3 separate regions of the Homo sapiens genome follow, and all the other regions are linked to region 1. The links are contacts of gene promoters, found by promoter capture Hi-C in blood cells and fetal thymus (Javierre and others, 2016). All regions are on one chromosome and are shown on one strand. The core of a region is centred on a gene start or on the middle of the fragment in contact, and the rest is flanking DNA. Distances in the headings are between cores, read along the strand shown. Region 1 holds the start of SPP2 (secreted phosphoprotein 2). Region 2 has its middle 200 kb from the start of LINC01891. Region 3 has its middle 180 kb from the start of LINC01891.

Evidence for each region. Contacts are between HindIII fragments. The CHiCAGO score rates a contact against its expected background, and 5 or more counts as called.
Region 2: a fragment that was not itself captured here is called in contact with the fragment with the promoter of SPP2 in region 1 in 1 of 17 cell types (total CD8 T cells); the score reaches 5.8 in total CD8 T cells.
Region 3: a fragment that was not itself captured here is called in contact with the fragment with the promoter of SPP2 in region 1 in 1 of 17 cell types (total CD8 T cells); the score reaches 5.7 in total CD8 T cells.

What each region holds. Positions count from the first base shown.
Region 1 is chr2:234,049,107-234,053,613 of GRCh38, reverse strand. SPP2 (secreted phosphoprotein 2) reads right to left here and starts at 2,912. Exons shown (of 8, transcript NM_006944.3): 1 at 2,743-2,912; 2 at 2,519-2,643. The coding sequence starts at 2,827. The HindIII fragment of the contact is 10,293 bases long and covers 1-4,507 here.
Region 2 is chr2:234,254,579-234,258,792 of GRCh38, reverse strand. No RefSeq gene overlaps it. Among named protein-coding and RNA genes, the nearest start is that of LINC01891, 200 kb to the left of the region's middle. The HindIII fragment of the contact is 2,570 bases long and covers 1,408-3,977 here.
Region 3 is chr2:234,272,243-234,276,509 of GRCh38, reverse strand. No RefSeq gene overlaps it. Among named protein-coding and RNA genes, the nearest start is that of LINC01891, 180 kb to the left of the region's middle. The HindIII fragment of the contact is 1,267 bases long and covers 1,913-3,179 here.

The sequences.
Region 1 (4,507 bases), core at 1,663-4,162:
CCCAGTGGTTCTTCACCGAGACCGCACATTAGAATGAGCAGGAGAACATTTAAGAATATGAGTCCCGCCCTCAGAGACTGGGATTTAAGGAGTCGATCATCCCTCCTGGACATCAGAAATATTTAAAGCTCCCGTGCAATGATGATGTGTAGTCTGAGTAGAGAATCACTGCACTTGGTAAGCAAACCTGAGGGCAAAACAGAAGGGCCCGACCCTTCTCCCTACAACCATTGAACTGTACCCCCAAATACTCATGACTAAACCACTTATTTGCTTTGAACATATTCTTAGAAGTGAAACTATGCAATTGAAAGTTTTAAATATTTACTAATTTAACGTTTAACATGCTAGTAAATATGTTTAACACATATTTCCAACTTGCTTTTCAAATACAATTTTACAAAATTCCAAACTCTCGAGCGGCAGTTGTGATGTTTTTTTCACCGTTATTCTTTTACCTTGTTATTCTTCTTTTTCACATTGCTATTTTAATTCTGCACTTTTCTTCTATTAGGGAGGTTGAATAGCTTTCCAAATCTTTCTTAGTCTTTTGTATTTCCTCTTTCGTGAATTGTTTGTAACCCCAGTGCTAGTGATCTATTCACTCAACTCTCTCCTGAGGGCTTTGCCTTTTAGTGTATCCCTCATGTCTGCTAGGGTAGAGAGAATTGGTATATTTGGAGCCATCTATAGGGTGTTTATAGAAGACATGGTTAATACACACAACATAAATCAAAATATGAAACACTCCCAATAGAAAAAAATATCACCAGGAGAGATCAAAGGAAGAGAATCTCCCTTCCAGTGGGAGAAGAAATAGAGTTCTCAACAAGAGGGCACGGTGACTGTAGCTTGACCAATGAATTTGAATAATCAGAAAAGGCAGGGAGAGGCAAGAATAGGCAGACCTCCAGGTAAAGGAGCAGTGTACTTGAGGTGGAGAGGCAACATTTTTCATGTGCTCATCAAGAGTCACACACATCGCATATAATTGTATCTATTTTTAGGTGCATGTGCGTCTGGGCTCAAGTCTGGGTGACTATACCAAGATGGCACATGAGCCAGAACACGCTCTGGTGGCTGTGCCTCACAATAGCTCATCTCCACAGGGCAGATTTCCACGGTGTCAGTAATTGGTTCTCTTGGGATCTATCCTCATGCTCTTATTCATCTAATAAACTGCTAACTTTCTTCTGTGGTGAGCAATAGCTAAATCAAAAGTAAATTTAAACTGTTCATCTGCAAGGTTGGCAAAAAGACCCCGATTCCACACCACCACAAGTGGATTTCATTAAATGCCAATGGAAACTGGCATTTGAAATACAATACAAGCAAGGAAAGGGGGTTCTGTATTCTGATCCAGGAGCAGCTCAACCTTTGGTGTGGCAGCTGACCAGTGCCTCCACACCACAACATCCAGAGCAAGTGACTCCACTCTGGCCATGATTCTGGAATGGCACCTAAAAAAAAGCATAGCCCATAGTCTTCATGAACTATAATCAAACTAGAAAATAAAACTGGGTCCTTTTGATTCATTTCCCTTGAAATTTGGAAAAGAGAAACTAGGAGCCAGGTTCTGAGGAAGATCAAGCTGAATATGTTGTATTTGGAGACTAGAACTAGGAAATCATGAGCCATGTGCTCTACAGAGTAGCAGAGGGAACAAGCTAAGAGTCAGTCCAGGAGGGATGGGAGAAGGCAGCAGGCAGACAGAGAGAAAGCAATGTCCATCTGGCCTCTGCTGCCTGGACCTTCAGCCGTGTCTTCATTCTCATTCCCATGCTGCCTGGCTATACAGAGCCTTCATTCCTAAGATGTGCAACTTTATAGAACCTCTCTACCTCCCACCTTAACCTAAATTTGCTTGAAAATATGTTCATCCCTACCTCCAAATGAGCCCCATGCAGATGATAATAAGGCAGTGAAATTACCTGGGGAACAGGAAGAAGGGAGATGACTTGCTGCTTATGTTTCTCATTTCCTTTGAAGGATATTTTTACATTTCTTTCCTTGCATATCACAGACTTAGTCATTGGAAGCCCAAGTGATTACTCTTTCTTTAGCTCCCAAAGCTAAGAGGAAACAGACTATTACCAAATTGACAAGGAAAGGTGAATTTCTTTGACTCAAAAGCCAGATTATTTCCAGTAAGTATTAGGAGCAGAACTGCTGAATTTGAAAGGAGGCTCATTTCCAATAAATGAGAAGTTCGTAATAAAACACCTCAGAAAGAATCGCGAGGACTTCAAGTACAAAAGCAGGCTGCAGGGAACCAGAAGACAAGGTTAGAGAGGAGAATACAGCAGAAGAATCAGTCATCAAAAGTGGTTTGGATAGCCTCATGACAAAAAATTGTAATTAAATCTTTCTCTGTCAAAGAAAAGAGACAGTATGAAAGAGATGACTAGCTACTATCATTTTTAAACTGGAGAAAATTTCTTAAAAGTATATCCAATGAACTGACAAAAGGCAGACAGCATTGGAAGGAGGAGTAGAGAAGATTTCATTTTGCACTTACTCTTTTTAATGAGCTTCTGAATGCCCGAAACAGATACGGACTCAGTGACTGGGAATTCACTTTTACCACAGAGGCACTGAGGGCATCCCTTAAGGAGGATGGATCGTAGTCGTACACTGGGAAACCTGGACACGCAAGCACATGGGGCACAGTGAGACAAGACACAGGCGCCAGCATGGCTCTGCATGATCCAGAGCAGGTGGCCAGGTTGGTGAATACCTTACCTGAGCAAGACCAGTAGTTCATTCCAAGAGCAAACATAATCAATATCTTCATCATCATCGTCATCTTCTCCATTCTGGAAATCATGATTGTAATCGAGAGACAGAGAGTGTCTCTCTATGTGTTTGGGGATGACAGTTCTTCCTAAGAGGAGCTGTCTTTATCAAACACTGGCTGCTTATTTTGACTGCAGCAATCTGTAACTTAAACAGAAACAATTGATCCTGGGGTCAATATTTTCTGCTGACTTTTCCTATGGAAAGGTTCCAGTTTGAGGACACTTTTGAAGTTTACAACTCACAAGAGAACTTTAGCCCAAGGCAAAAGGCATCAAGAGGCTCAGGATTCCACGTGTGCTGTTTATTTTTCTCTATTTTAATTTCATTCTTTGGAGGGGATATAATCTTACATTCAACAAAATGGTTAATCTTAAATTGTTGTGTATTGAGATCCCCTCATGGTTCTAAAGATCTTGCAGTTGACTACTTATGAAAATAGTGTGGGTATAAGATCTTCTTGGAAATTATGACTTTGGAGAAGATAATTTTATATAGGGGTCCTAAATATTCGAAGCAAGTACAAGTGCAGTAAAAAGCTGGGACACACCATCCTATTAACCAATCTTCTGTGCTACTGGACACTTTTGCACATCACCTGGATAATAAGGTATTTACATATTGATGATTCCCATGCACTGTAAGATCCCAAGGTAGTTTTTGAATGATTAAAAAGGAGAACTACTTAATTGGAAGTACAGTTTGTGTTGTATGTAGGTCATTGTGTTCTTATTTGTGGATTTCACGCATAAGAAGCTGTGTTTTGTCTCAGAAAGACCTGGACTGAGATCTTGGCTCTACCATGTACCAGGAGTATCCCCTTGGGCATGGCACTCAACACCTCTGAACCTCAATTTTCTCATCTATAAAATAGGCATAAATGGTTAGAGGTCAGGTGTGTTCTTAGTCAGGGTTCTCCAGAAAGGAGAACCAAAATATAGAGGGAAAGAAAAAGAGAGATTTTTTAAATATATACTTTAAGTTCTGGGGCACATGTGCAGAACCTTCAGGTTTGTTACATAGGTATACATGTGCCATGGTTGTTTGCTGCACCCATCAACCCATCATCTACATTAGGTATTTCTCCTAATACTATCCCTCCCCCAGCCCCCCACCCCCCAACAGGCCCCGGTGTGTGATGTTCCTCTCCCTGTGTCCATTTGTTCTCATTGTTCAACTCCCACTTATGAGTGAGAACATGTGGTGTTTGGTTTTCTGTTCTTGTGTTAGTTTGCTGAGATTGATGGTTTCCAGCTTCATCCACGTCCCTACAAAGGACATGAACTCATCCCTTTTTATGGCTGCTTAGTATTCCATGGTGTATATGTGCCACATTTTCTTTATCCAGTCTATCATTGACAGGTATTTGGGTTGGTTCCAAGTCTTTGCTATTGTGAACAGTGCCACAATAAACATACCTGTGCATGTGTCTTTATAGTAGAATGATTTATAATCCTTTGTGTACATACCCAGTAATGGGATTGCTGGGTCAAATGGTATTTCTAGTTCTAGATCCTTGAGGAATTGCCACACTGTCTTCCACAATGGTTGAACTAATTCACACTCCCACCAACAGTGTAAAAGTGTTACTATTTCTCCACATCCTCTCCAGCATCTGTTGTTTCCTGACTTTTTAAGGATCGCCATTCTAACTGGCGTGAGATGATATCTCATTGTGGTTTTGATTTGCATTTCTCTAATCACCAATGAT
Region 2 (4,214 bases), core at 1,443-3,942, 210 kb before region 1:
GTGATTCCAGGTGAATTACTTCTTTTTGAAGTGATTAAAGTTTTTGCCCATAGCTCCTTGGTTTTTGCTGTAAACTACAGCTTTTCTAGCGTGCAACCATGTTTCACCATTAGATTACTCACAGGCTCAGACCAATCACTACAAACCACAAATGGCAAATTGAAATATGGATTGTGAGTTGAATTTTCACCTTGTTATCTTTGGATTTCTGCAATCAAAGGATCCAATGCTTCATGAGCTCTAGGGAAATATACTTGGTAGCCAACCCATTTTATTGCAAAATTGCCTATATAGGTTAAAAATTAAGAGAAATAAGGCATCCCCCTCTCTCCTTTGCTGCAGCCTCTGGAGCGCCTTGCCCTCTCCCTACCCTCTGCCTCCTCACTGTCTCATATCCTGTGACTCACAGGACATGTGCTCCGAGCCACAGAATCCCACAGTGAATGTGTCTGGCAGCTGCCAGGTATTCTCCCCACCAGGAGGCTCCACACATGCTCCCTGAAACGTGCTGCAGCAAGCACTGTGAAAAATGCACTTTCTCGTCGCTTGACTTGGAGAGAGTCCTATGTGTTTGAAGACTTAACAGATGCCACAGAAGCCTCAGAAATGCTCTCTCCGAGGTTAAGCTCCCTCCTCCAGCAAGTGGGACATTTTCACATCCACCGTCTTAGCTTAGGGCAGTAGGGATTTCCTAAAGATGAACAACCCTGTCTGGTTACAGGTAGATTGTTCTTGAGACACAGGCCACACCCCTCCCGGCCTTCCCATCCTTGGCAGGGTCCTAGAATGCTGTTTCCACTTTTCCAGATGCAATGGTGAGAAATTTGGTGGTGATTACTGAGAAAACCAACTCTGGTTATTTCTGACAAAATCAAAGTTGTTTGGTTAGGGTTAGGGTTAGGGGGTATACTAGTCCGTTTTCACGCTGCTGATAAAGACACACCCAAGACTGGATAATTTACAAAGGAAAGAGGTTTAATTGACTCACAGTTCCACATGGCTGAGGAGGCCTCACAATTATGGCAGAAAACGAAAAAGGAGCAAGAGGCTATCTTACATGGTGACCGGCAAATAGAGAATAAGAGCCAAGCAAAAGGGGTTTCCCTTTATAAAACCATCAGATCTGTGAGACTTACTCACTACCATGAGAACAGCATGGGGGAAACTGCTCCCATGATTCAATTACCTCCCACCAGGTTCCTCTCACAGCACGTGGAAATTATGGGAGCTACGATACAAGATAAATTTGGGTGGGGACACAGCCAAACCATATCGGGGGGATTTGCAAAAGTCACCCCTATCATAATGCCTGAGGGTTTGTACTGCTACATCAATTACATTTTATTTTTTCTTTCCCTCCCTCCCTGTCTCCCTTCTTTCCTTTCTTTCTTTATTAAAATGTAAGCTTCCTGAGGGTAGGGACACTGACTGTCTTACCCAACTCCTGGAATTTGTGCCTGACACCTAATAAGAACTCACTATATACTTGTTTTGTTGAATGACATTTCAAAATTGATATTGACATGAACTGAGACCTGAAAGGTAATAGAACTCTGTTGCCTTTCCTCATCCTGAATTGCTCTCTATGTTTATAAAATGGTGCTTTTTTACCAAATCAGACCCAGTGTTACACATTTACATTGGATTAGCTCATTCAGTCCATATAAAATTCTATTGTCATTGTTATTATCTGCATCTTTATAGACAATGAAACAGGTTTTTAGAGTAAGTAAATTTTCCAGGCTCTCTTGCCCACAAGTGGATGAGTAGGGATTTGAACCCAGGTCCTCCTGACTTCCAAGTCCATATCTATCCCTAGGTATCTGTCAACAGGTGAAATCTACCATCCCACATGATGATCTGAGAGAAGTGGCTTTTCATTAGAATTTTACCTGGGATGAATGCAGGGGTATCACATCAAGGTTATCAGGACTTTGATTGCCAGTAACAAAGAAGCCCATGAGGGTGGCCAACTCAAGGCAGGCGACACCCACAATCTCTTGAGTAGACAGGACCAGGAACAGGACTCCACGAGGATAGCAGTTATTTCAGGAATGCTCACCTGGTAGGATCAGCAAAGCTGGGTCACATGAGGCCAGAATTATCCTCACCTTGACAAGAATGCAGGCTTGCCCCTTCCCTCTCTGGTTAGAGCAGCGAACTCAGGAGTCATCTAATTCCTCCATCCCCCCAGCTTGCACTGGGTGAGGAATAGGTGTGCCTTGTACCCCTGCCCTGAGCAAACACCCCAATCTCTTAGTATGGGCAGTCTCTCTCTTAGTTGCACTTAGACAAGAAGGACATTTAAAAAATAGATTTCATTAAAGATGAAAAAGATTTCAAATGCACACACACACACACAGACACACACACCCCTACTGAACTCAGAGTTCTTTGCCCAATTCAACTAAAGACTGGCGGCATCCACCTATATATAGTTTGACCACACCTAAGAGCAAATGCCAGGTGCTTAGACCAAAATTATTCTTCTTCAACCTTGACCTGGCTGAAATCCTGACTTGTTTGAAGTAACGACAGGTCCACGGCTGATGGTCTTGGGGCACTCATTACATGAATATTTGCTTAGCTTTTGGAATGTCTGCACCTCAGTAAAAAACTTCATGGATTGCTCAGGTGTTTTCCAAATGATTTGGTTTAGAAAGAAGTTTCTGTTTGGATTTGTAAGGGCCTCTTCTGGTGTTGACCTGGTTTGCCACTTTGACCTGCTGGGATGACTAGACTGGGCCATTCTATCCAGGAATCCGGTATTGCTAATGGAAGTCATATTTATGCTTACATTTTGAATGAGTGACTCTGACTTCTTCGTTTCTATAAGCCTGTATTTCAAGTACCAATAATTATGTAGTTGCTAAATCAATAGGTCTAATACTTTCTTATAAAAAGTGTTAACATTGAATAAGGAAGGCTATTCTGGTTTATGTATATTGCATACATTTTCTCATCATATCATACAGATTCTAGAAAATCCAATCACTTTGATTTTTGAAGCTAATATTTCTTTCACTGTGTATAGTTTTGAAGGTTCAGGAAAAACCTATTTTGGTCTCACATATATTTCTACTTAGCCCCAAACAGACCCAAAATCCTGATTGTGCTCCAAGCCAAAATTCTGATATAAAGATAAATCACTTCTTTGTTGATACTTACTTTAGTGTCTTTAAAGAAATCTCCTTTCTCCACTAAAATACCAGAGAGCAGAAATTGGCATGCAGCAAGCATGTATATAAGCAGGCTCCTTTTGTGTAGTTGAAGCACAATGCCATCTGTACCCTCTTTTGTTTAGCCAAAGTACCTCAGTTTCTTTCCATCAATAACAATATACAACGAAACCTCCTCTGCTTAGGGGATGGCAAACGTGGACTTTGAATTCAATTACGTGTTATACTTATTAATCATCTAATTCATTTGGCTGAGGAATAGCGTTGCCTAGAGCAATGTAAATTGTTTCAACCAAACAGTATTTGCTTCATCAGGTTTACCAAATCAGCTAATGGAAAAATACAGAAAGATGCAGAAGGCTCTCTACTGGGCATCTCTGGGAAGCACTAGGTAAGTAAAACCTGTCCTGTGTTTGAGGATCTTACAATCTGGTTGAGGATCTGAGATGTGGGGTTTCTGAGACAGGTAGAAGGACCTCAAGGGAGCATGGGGTTCCTTCTCCCTCCCCATTGTTCTCATGTAAACAACCACAGCATAAACCACCTCAAATTGTCTTCAAAGCGACTATCAATCTATATGTCCACATCTGTCTCTATGTTCATAGACACATGTACCTCCAAAACATAAAACAGAAAACATGTGCATCTTCATTACAAAGTGAAACCAGAAATTAACCACATCCCAGCATCCATGAGGGATTTTTGCAAATGCAGTGTGGACAGGACTACACAGAACACATCACTGATTGCTAGGAAATGCTTCACATCCAGAGACAAATAATGCCTGGAAAGGAAGCTTGGCTGTGCCACACAATAGCCCACTAGCACCCTCTCATTCAAAAGCATGGGCTCACAGGCACGGTGGTGCACACCTATAATCCTCAGCTACTCGGGAAGCTGAGATGGGAGGACTGTTTAAGCCCAGGAGATCAAGACCAGCCTGGGCAACATAGCAAGACCCCTGTCTCTCTTAAAAAAAAAAAAAAAAAAAAACCTTAGCTGAGCATGGTGGCACATGGCTGATGGCTGTAGTCC
Region 3 (4,267 bases), core at 1,297-3,796, 220 kb before region 1:
TTTTTTTTGTAAAAGCTATAAATACTGGTAAAACTAAAATAAGATTTTTTAATTCCAAGTTCTTAAAGAAGTAAATAAAAATAAAGCACAGAGTTTACAACAACAACAAAAAACAGAGGAAAAGTGGGGAAGGCAGAATGAGAAAATATATACAAGATTAGAAAAGATCTAGCAAAATACCATGGCAGTAAAAGTGCTTTAATCCTCTTATTGAATTCCATAATTTGTACTCTATTAAAAATCATTAACTAGTTTTCTATAAGAAACCCACTCAAAGAGAAATAGAGAATTAAACTTTTAAAAACCCTGGACCAAAAATGATAATAACAATAATGAGAAAAAGACAGACATTGCAAAATTAATATGCAATTAATGAGACAAAGGGTTTTAGGCAGAAAACATAAACCAGGACACAGAGTCACTTTACAGATAGATTAAAAAGCCATTAATGGCTGAGCTACAACACACAAAATAATCTGTGCACCAAATAACATAGGTGTAAAAATTCAGAAAAATAATTTTTTTTAGTTATACCTGAGTGGGAGACTTTAGTGCTGCTCTAAAGAGCTGTCATCATTCAGTGAAAAATAAAGACCGTATTTGAGCCATAGAGGGAGTGAGGTAAAATAATAGATACATGCTTTCTTACACCTGGTGCTCCATATGGTTTCAAAGTAAATATTCATTTTGTAAGCACTAAACTTTTGCCTGGGAGGTTTGGGCAAAGGGCCATGCAAAAATGAACTCTGATTCTCCTTGGCCTAATCAGTCACACAGTTTCCCTGGCAGGTGCTCTCTCTGGGGTTCATACAGAATTCCCATGGCTTGCTTACCATTCCTCAGGCACTGAGGCAGATAGGATCATGCTGGGACACTCTGATCATGCAGCAGGAGGCGACTGGGATTTGAAAGGACCTTCAGCCACTTCAGAATTTGGTGGCTATTTTTGCAGCAGGTCCAGAGGCTTCCTAAAGCTTCTATGCTAGTGTAATTATCACCAACTTAACTACTTTATATAACCAATCAGTGCCCATAAGGGCCACTGTATGTTTGACCTTGGGGTGAAAATGTGTTTTATTAATTTATGCCTGAACAACTCAGTTGGTCTGGGAGAGTTGGAAATCAATTTTTTTGGGGGTGGGGAGAGTAAAGAAATTGTCTTTTTTTCTTAAAATACACAACATGACATATGAATACATTCTTATAGAAAAAGATTCAAGGATACATAAATACACTGAGCAAGACTCACCTTTCGTTTCTCTGCCTAATCCTATTCATCATCTTATACTTATCCACTGCCAATGTCATGACTTAACACCTTTTCAAGGTCTTTTCTAGACATATACACACACTTAAAAAAAAACTTCATTTTTAGATAATTGTAGGTTTACATGCAGTTGTAAGAAACAAATAGAGAGACCCCAGTTGTTACCCAAATGGTAACATGTTGCCTTTTTTTTTTTTTTTTTTTTTTTTTTTGAGACAGAGTCTCACTTTGTCACCCGGGCTGGAGTGCAACGTCGCAATCTCGGCTCACTCCAACCTCCACCTCCCAGGCTCAAGGGATTATCCTGCCTCAGCCTCCGGAGTAGCTGGGATTACAGGCACCCACCACCATGTCTGGCTAATTTTTTTTTGTATTTTTAGTAGAGACGGGGTTTCAACGTGTTGGTCAAGCTGTCTCGAACTCCTGACTTCAGGTGATCCACCTGCCTTAGCCTCTCAAAATGCTGGGATTACAGGTGTGAGCCACCACGTCTGGCATCTTGCATAATTTTAATACAGCATAACAACCATGAAATTGACAATGACAATGATGGGGCTCAGGGCATATCTCCCCAAAACATGCCTCTTTGGCATAAGGATTATTTTGTGCTGATTATTTTGGGAAAAGGCAGGCACAGGAAAAGCTTTGAAAGCAGAGTTCCTTTTGTAAGGAAATTGATGTCTATAAAGGAAATCTCTATTTGTAAGGGCGTCTCCCTCTGTGCACCAGGAAGAGGAGGATGACTAAATCACTAGAGACTCTAATCAATGGAGAAGACTTAAATTTGATAACAAACCTTACCCTGGGTTTATGGTGCTCTTCCTGGCCATCTCACCTTAACCAGAACTTTGCCCACATCCTCCTATGTTTCAGCGAGTAATGGCATTTAAGCCTGAAGACAACTCTTTGAGATCTACTCTAATTTACTCATCTCTCTGGGTATCTCTTACATATACAGGAGGTATTTGTGTTATTAAACTTGTAACCACCCAGTGGGTTCACCTTGCCTGCTGCCTAGACAGAGTTGATTTATCAAGACAGGGGAATTGCAATAGAGAAAGAGTAATTCACGCAGAGGCGGCTGTGCGGGAGACTGGAGTTTTATTATTACTCAAATCAGTCTCCCAGGGCATTTGGGGATCAGAATTTTTAAGGGCAACTTGGTGGGTGGGGGGAAGCCAGTGAGCCAAGAGTGCTGATTGGTTAGGTAGGAGATGAAATCATGGGAAATTGAAGCTGTCCCCTTGCACTGAGTCGGTTCCTGGGTGGGGGCCACAAGATCGGATAAACCAGTTCATCGATCTGGGCGGGGCCAGCTGGTCCATCAAGTGCTGGGTCTGCAAAATATCTCAAGCCCTGATCTCAGGAGCAGTTTAGGGAGGGTCAGAATCTTGTAGCCTCCAGCTGCATGACTCCTAAACCTTAATTTCTAATCTTGTGGCTAATTTGTTATTCCTACAGAGGCAGTCTAGTCCCCAGGCAAGAAGGTTTGTTCTAGGAAAGGGCTGTTTTTGTCTTTGTTTTAAACTATAAACCAAGTTCCTACCAAAGTTAGTTCAGCCTAAGCCCAGGAAGGAACAAGGACAGCTTAAAGGTTAGAAGTAAGATGGAGTCAGTTAGGTTAGATCTCCTTCATTGTCTCAGTCATAATTTTGCAAAGGCGGTTCCAAACTTGTTTGTTTTTCTCTTGTTAATCTGTCTTCCATCACAGGGAGTTCCGGCTAAGAACTCATGAAGAATGGAGGAAAAAAGTTATTTTCAATGTACCCACTTCCTCAGATTTCTCCAGTTTTATGTGCTCTCTGTTGTGTGTGTGGGTATTTAGTTCCATGCAACTTTATCACATAGGTAGATTTCTTTGACCACCACCAAGGTTGAGGCACACAGCAGTTCCGCACACCTTGTTTAAGCTTTTTATTGAAGTGTGTCAACCTAAAATAACAACAGGCAGAGTGGTTCTGTAAAGAAATTAGTTTACTGAGAAATGGCAGAGGAATTATAATTTGGAATACATGTGCTATAGCAAACTATAGATGCATCTGGGGAAGTTGAGGCTAGGGAAACTTTTAAAGGCAAAGAGGGGAAGTATATGCAGGTTGCTTTGAAGCAAAAGTTCATTGTCTACAGAGGCTTATCACAGGCAGTGATGTGTGTACTGGCCATTTTTAGGAGAGGGTCTTCACAGAAGTGACACTGACTTAGAACTTAAAGTATTATGTGTGTATATGTATATATATATATATATGGCTACTTAAAAGGTTTCAGTTAGGACTGGCTGTTATTGGAAAGGTGCTCTCATAAGAATGACCTTAACTGCAAGGTGTGGTTTGTCCATTCTCTGTGATCGTTCTTGCTATCAGGGAAATATGCATGAAGACCCTCTCTTCAAGGCCTCCCAACTCCATTTTATTAGGGTTTGTCACAAGTGACTCCATTTTGATTCTGAGAATTTTCACAAGTATAATATACATTTAGAAAAGCACCCATATCCTAAGTGGGCAACTAGATGCATTTTCACCAATGGAAATTCACCATGTAACCAGCAAAGAGGTTAAGAAACAAGCACCCGCAGAAGACATTTTCATACTCCTACCAGTCACTATTTGTTAAGGGTAACCACAATCCCACATAGAGCATAACAGCACTGATGAAGTTTTGCCGTTTCTTAAAGTAAAAATAGAATTGTGATATATTCTCTTTTCTCTCAGTATTGACTTCCTTCTGTGAAAGGAAAATAGATCTTGGGACCCCAAACTCACTAAGTCAAAGGGAAGAGTCAAGCTGGGAACCGGGTCATGCAAACCTGCCTCCGATTTTGGTTCCTAGATAAGATGGCCACAAAGATGAAAAGCTACATACCTCCCTCACATTTTACCCACCAGGAAATTCCTGTTGGGCCCCAAGATTCTTACCCTAAAGTGTTTCTGTTAAATTTCACCATGGCAATGTAAATTGATGGCTTGTCTTCACAGGTGCGAGGACATAGGACAGAACTCAAAG